Regions from separate parts of the Homo sapiens genome. Here region 2 is linked to region 1. Evidence: promoter capture Hi-C in 16 types of primary human blood cells and fetal thymus (Javierre and others, 2016). All regions are on one chromosome and are shown on one strand. The core of a region is centred on a gene start or on the middle of the fragment in contact, and the rest is flanking DNA. Distances in the headings are between cores, read along the strand shown. Region 1 holds the start of SMAD7 (SMAD family member 7). Region 2 overlaps MBD1 (methyl-CpG binding domain protein 1).

Region 1 (3,164 bases), core at 334-2,833:
AGCCTTCCTTGGCGGGCCTGGACCAAATCCAACTCGGCCACACACCTCAACGTCTTTCCGGGTGCGGGGAGGCGTGACCCCCCCACCTCCCTCTGCACCCCCTTGTTGATCCGGAAATGAAGGCGTCTAATTTTTAACCGCAGACTGCAGGAGCAGTGCCCGTAGACCCCTTCGGGGCAACACAGGAGAAAACCTGGAAGGGAACCCCCAGGGAATGCCCTTTGAGTTTCCCCTTGTCCCTTCTCTACTTTCAGCCCCCAGTCTCTTCCCAGGAGGGTATGCACACTCTCCCAGGAGGGTATGCACACTCTCCCAGGAGGGTATGCACACTCCCCCTGGAGGGATGGCTGCACAAACGCACTGCCCTAGGGGCTTTTCTTCCAGCACTGGCGCTCCGGAAAATGTTGGGGGTAGGGGGACAACTTCTCACCTAGTTCGCAGAGTCGGCTAAGGTGATGGGGGTTGCAGCACACCAGCTCGGGGTTGATCTTCCCGTAAGATTCACAGCAACACAGCCTCTTGACTTCCGAGGAATGCCTGAGATCCGGCCACCTGAACACTTTGCACAGCAGGAGGGGGAGCGAGTAGGACGAGGGCGGCTGCGCAGGCTGCGCGCCGGCGGGCGCCCCCGGGCCCAGCCTGCAGTCCAGGCGGCCGGGCAGCAGGAGGCACGCGGTGCGCGTCCCGCCGCGGGACTCCACGGCCTGGAGCAGCAGCTCCAGCTGCCGCTCCTTCAGTTTCTTGAGCACCGAGTGCGTGAGCGCCTTCAGATCCGCCTCGGCGCCCCCGGCCGCGCCGGCGCCCGCGGCTGGCGGGTGGGGATGGTGGTGACCTTTGGCACCTCGCACCGCCTTGCCCAGGCAGCATCCAGCCCTGCCCGGGCCGCCGCCACCGGCCCCATGCGCTCGGCTGTCCGTCGCCCCTTCTCCCCGCAGCTCGCCTCCTCCTCCACCTCCCCCTGCGCCCTCCTCCTCGTCCTCGCCGCCGGGCGCACGGCTCCTCCAGAGACGCCGGACGAGCGCAGATCGTTTGGTCCTGAACATGCGGGGCGAGGAGGCGAGGAGAAAAGTCGTTTGCCTGCTAAGGAGCGAACATGACCTCCGCACACCATGAAGAAGTCGGGCGCCGAGTTGGGGCAGCAGGCGCAGGCGACAGCAGCAGCAGCAGGGGCCCGGGCAGGAGCGGCGGCGGCCCGAGGGGCGCTCCGTGGCATGCGCCAGTCTCCCGGAGGCCGGGGCGCGCGCGGGGGCCCGGGGGCGCCCGCCGGGGATCGGGGGCCTGCGCTCCGGCTGCCCCACCCCGCGCGGCCCGCGCCCTGCGCGGCTCTCCGGCCCCGGCGCGCCCCGGAGGAACCCGGCCGCCGCTTCCCTGGGGACGGCCGAGCCTGCCCCCGTCGGCGCCTCCCCAAAAAGAGGCCCCCCCGCAGTGGCTCCCGAATGTCGGGCTCGCCAGCCTCGGCTTCCTACATGGAAGGTCCGCGGGGGCAAAAAACGAAAGGCGTTCGGCTGGGCTGTTGGAAGAAGGAAAAAGCCTCTTTCCCCCTTGCTAAGCAACTTAATTTGGGGGTGGGGAGAAGCAGGCAATTAAAAAAAAAAAAGCAAGCGATTTATTTTTTTCCTCTATATCCTTAGTAACCGGATCTCCTCGAATTCCGCGCACACGAAGACTCAGGGGAGGGGGCCGAGTGGACTTCACCCCGCATGAGACGTCTGGCAAAATAAGAAGGCTCTCGCAAAACCTAACAACCAAATATGCAAAGCCCCAAATGAAAACCACCACCTCCTCGAACCTCAGAGGTCTGGGGGCGTCCGGCTGGAACTGGGGTTTAAAAAAAGAAAATGTTTACAAAGTATAACAAGATGTTTGATGGGTGGAAAAATGTATCCACGAGTTACATCCCCCCGTTTCCTTGCAAAGCCCCGCTGGTCTTCCTCTCCTTTTCTTCTGCCAAAAAAAAAAAAAAAAATCGTGTATTTTTTTAATCCACAGAAAGCTTTGGCTAGACCGCTTCAATCCTGCGCATCTGGGTGGTTTAGGGGAGTCTCTGGTCTTTCCCCCTGCGCTCCTGGGGGCCCAGGTCCTCGGCGGGGACTTCCTCGAGGCTGGCGCGGGCGCAGGGGCAGAAGATGCTGCGGCGGCGGCTGAGCCCGGCGGGGCTGACAGCGCGGGGGAGGGTGGCGCGGCGGCGGCGGAGGGCCCCAGACGGGTCGCGCGTTCTCGCCCCCCCCGGGCACAAGCTGCTTGCTAGTGCAGGGGCCGCCGATGTCCCTTCCCCTGGCCGCGGCTGGCCGCCGAGGCTCCCCGCATGGGCTGCTCGCCTCGACCCAGCTGCGGCGGCAGGAGGCCCCGGTGTCCTCTCGGCGCCTCCTCCTCCGAGACTCTCCTCGTCGCGCCCGGGAGCCTCCTTGTCCCCGGTCCGCCCTCTCCTGGCGCTCCGGTCCTTCTGCCGCCGCCAGGGGCTCGCCGCGCCGCACTCAGGGGCTCAGGGGCCGGGCGCTCGGCGGCTCGGCGCCGACGGACTGGCTCTGTCTCGGGCAGCTCTCTCCCGCGCGGCGAGCGGACCGAGCACGGCGCCCGGCTGGCTCGGCTGGCGCGGCTCGGGGACAGGATCTTCCGTGCGCCGAGCAGCAAGCGAGTGTGCCCGGGGCTCACCGCCTCCCGCAAGGCCTCCCGCCCCCGCCCCCTTCCCTCCCCCTTCCTCCCCCTTCCCTCCCCCGCCCCCAGCCGCCGCAGCCGCGCCGCCTCCTCCCCGCCCCCCCGCACCCCCCCTCCGGCCCTCTGCTCGGCTGGTTCCACTGCGCAGTGGCGCGCCCGGCTCCGGCCTCGTCACGTGGCCGTCTAGACACCCTGTCGCTTTAAAAAAAAAAAAAAAGCGATTGTGTTTCGCAAACAACAGATCGGGTTTCTAAAAGCTATTTCTCCCCCCAACCCCCCGCCACCGCCACCCCCTCCCGGGTCTGTAGAGGGGGTACCGATGGAGGGGAGAGAGATAGGTGGGGGGCAGAGAAGCTCCCAGAATGGATTGAGCCCCGGCCGGAGCCATGGAGAAATTGGAAAAGCAGGGAGCACCGAGCGGGCTTCGCCGCGAGTTTTGGAGCTGAGCGAGCGGGTCGGTGGCCCGATTTCGACCCGGCTGGGTTTCGCGGTGGCCATCTCGCGCGCGC
Region 2 (3,164 bases), core at 345-2,844, 1.3 Mb after region 1:
AGGTGAGCAGTGAGACCCTTGGGAGCGGATTCATGGTAGGGTGGCTTTGTAATGTGTCACCTTGGTGAGGCTATGTTTCCCGGAACTCTCTTCCAGTAAGATGGGCCACAAGAGACATTTTGCTTGATAACCGGAGGGCGGAAGTGAAGCAGCAGCACATTGTTTTTACACTTGGAAGGTTGGTGCTGGGGCACCAGGCGTTGTTGCAGTTCACACGTTGCCATGTATCTGCTAGATCACCTCGTTGGTGTGGGCAGTAGTCAGGCCTGCAGCCAGGCCTGCAGCTGCTCCACCTTCCCCAGGATCATCCTTTCAGCTTCTCTAATTCCTGGGCCAGATGCATATTTAACTCTGTGAGGAAGGGCACCAGCTTCTTCTGCAGGACACCCACATCATCGAAGCTGGAGGTGGTGAGAGACTGACATGGGTTCCAGGCCATCCTCGTGGGTTCCAGCTCGTGCTCGTGGGCTCCACTGTGTCCTCGGTCTCCCACACTTTACATCCATCTTCCCTTCCCGAGTGCCTGCCCTGCAGACTTCAAGCTCCAGCATTAGATGCAAAGACAACAGCCTTACAGAGACTGTTTAACCAGCTCCCACAATGGCATGCGGTCAGATCCCTATAATAAATCCCTTAAAATACATATATACATAATCTTTATCTTAGTGGTTCTGCTCCTCTGATTGTACCCTAACATAAATGGTCAGCAGAAGCTTAACTCATGAGTCTAAATGTCAATCAAATAAATTTCATATAGATCATTGTCAAAATTACCAGAATACTGGGGTTGGGTGGTTGGTTCCTGGGGGAAACAAAGCAGTATCAGTCTATCCAGTCTTGACTAGGGCTGAACTAGTTAGGATGGAATAAAGGAAGGGGTGGGGAAGGTGGCAGAGGCTGGACTGTATGAGACAGAACTGGGAAATGGCTAATCCATGTCTGAATTACTTAAAGCTGCAGGGCTGGGACTAGGGTAAGGCAAGGGAGGCACACAGGATACAAAGTTTAAGGAGGCACTCACTCAGTCCTGGCCCTGTAAAGCTGGCTAACAAATTACAGGTCTAATCTTTTTGGCACTTTATGAATGAAGAATTGGGAGAGAGTGAGGTAGGGCTGAGCCAAGACTGGCTCTTGGGCAGGACTCGAAGCAGGAATTCAGCCTCCTAGAACACATTCAGGCTGAGGGCAGGAGCCAAGCACAAAGGTGATCACAGGGCAGGAGATGCACGTTGTCAGGAAAGATGAGCCAGGCTGGCAGCTTTAGTTACAAAGACTGCTCTGGCTGAAGAGGGGGAGTCAGGGTAACAAGCAAAATGGACAGCAGCCAGTGGGGAGATATATCCTGTAGGGTTTGAGGAATCCTATGCAGCACCTGGGGTCTGCAGGAAACCCAGTTTCTGTATGAACAGATGCTCTGACAAGGTGACCCCATCTACATTGAGCCTTGGCACTCCCTAAACCATGCTAGAGACAGGAATGTAAGGGATTTATTATAGTAATTATAGTAATCTGTGTTTTCAAGGTCACCGAAAACTCCTGTTAGTGCATACAGGATTACAGGTTACAGTTTAGTGGAGTAAAGAACAAGGGCTTTAAAAGCTGGGTTTGAGTCTAGGCTCTACTAACACCAGCTGTTCGACATTGGACAAATTAATGAGTCTCAGTTTTCCCATCCACATAAATGGACAAAATCAATGTCTTCCCAAAAATATTATTTTAAGGATTAAATAAACTGGGTCCACAGAGGAACACACCAAATAGCAGTTCCTTTCCTTATTTATTCAATTACATTTTCAATTGCTATCTCCCTGAGGAAGTATGTAGAGACACTGCCAGGTCTCATCCAGAAGCCACTTACAATTACTCATGAACATGGCTTGTTTAGGTTGTTTTGTGGTGGCTTTAATTATATTACCTTTCTCCAACCCAGCTCCCCCACCCTTAAAATCCAACTTCTTATACTCAGGCTCTTGGGGAGGAGAAGATGCACCAACTTTCTACTCTTTCTCTTCCTTTCCCGCTTACTTCTTCTAGAAGCTCAAAGTACTCTTAGGCCTGCTCTTCTGGTTTGGTAGTAGGTTTTTCCTCCTAGGGTTGATTCACACACAAGCCCTGGCAACCAATCTAGGGTCCAGCCCCTAGTAGATCAGTGTTGTCTCTCATAAAGCCAGTCTGCAAATATCACCTTGAATCCTACAGTCTGTAGAAGCCTCCAGTCTACTGCTTTCTAGCTCCAGGTTTTTTAAGGTCTTTGGACCTAGGGAAAAGGGAGCAGGTCTGTATGTTGAATGAGGTTTGCTATGTGCGCAATGGAGCATTACAAAACCATTTCCTACTATTCTGTGTCCTCCATCCACTTCCCCTTAATTATCCTTTATCTTTTTTTATATCTTCTAAAAACTACCATTATAGACAGCTTGTACATAGTCAGATTATAAGCTCCCTGAAGGTAGGTATCCTGTGTCTCCTGAAGGGTAAGCTTTGCAGGGCTCATTGTCCTCAATGCTGTGCACCCAACAGGAACTCAATCAATACTTCTGTAATTGGCCAAGTATAGATGAAAGGGTTTCTAGCCTGGTGGGCTGGTTTGTAGGAGCAAAGGAATCCAAGTGCTTAGGCCAATAGTTTACATCGCCAGTGTCTGGGGCTCTATGCAGGGTCTGTCAATATTCTGCAGGAGCCAGCACTCCTCTGTCCTCCCAACCACCCTAGTCCTTACAGGCATCTACCCTTTGTTCTATGCCAGGACTACAGGGACAGTTCTGCAAGGCATCTGAAGTTAATAACCTCAATAGGCTCAGGAAAGGCTCAAGAGATCCAGCCCAAGCCCTTCCACAGAGGCCGCTCCAGGAAGTGCAGGGCAACCAGAGATCACACAACTACGTGTGAACCCAGCTCACAAAGCCAGCTCGGAACCCAGATCTCCTGCCCATACCACTGCCCAGGCAAGCCCAGCACCATTTCTCTGGTACACATTGCTCAATGTCAGGCAACAGCCCACCCAGAGGTCTCCTGGAGACTCTAAAGGCCTTCAAGACCCAAATGATTATTCTCTGAATAAGAATTTATATATTAAAGCTGACCCCTATAGAAATTCCTTAGGAAAATAGGGACCAGACTCCCTATCTTTTTCTTTCAAATCTCATGATAGAGTACCAAGTCTT

The links. The method cuts DNA at HindIII sites, captures the fragments that hold promoters and counts their contacts. A CHiCAGO score of 5 or more calls a contact.
Region 2: a contact is called between a fragment that was not itself captured here and the fragment with the promoter of SMAD7 in region 1, in 1 of 17 cell types (activated CD4 T cells). The highest score is 6.6, in activated CD4 T cells.

Annotation. Positions count from the first base shown.
Region 1 is chr18:48,949,382-48,952,545 of GRCh38, forward strand. It overlaps SMAD7 (SMAD family member 7), which reads right to left and starts at 1,584. Exons shown (of 4, transcript NM_005904.4): 1 at 431-1,584. The coding sequence starts at 1,043. RefSeq lists silencers at 522-841, 2,058-2,757. The HindIII fragment of the contact is 3,263 bases long and covers 1-1,991 here.
Region 2 is chr18:50,269,284-50,272,447 of GRCh38, forward strand. It overlaps MBD1 (methyl-CpG binding domain protein 1), which reads right to left. Exons shown (of 17, transcript NM_015846.4): 16 at 2,186-2,257; 17 at 1-535. The coding sequence ends at 2,218. Among named protein-coding and RNA genes, the nearest start is that of CFAP53, 4.4 kb to the left of the region's middle. The HindIII fragment of the contact is 1,766 bases long and covers 712-2,477 here.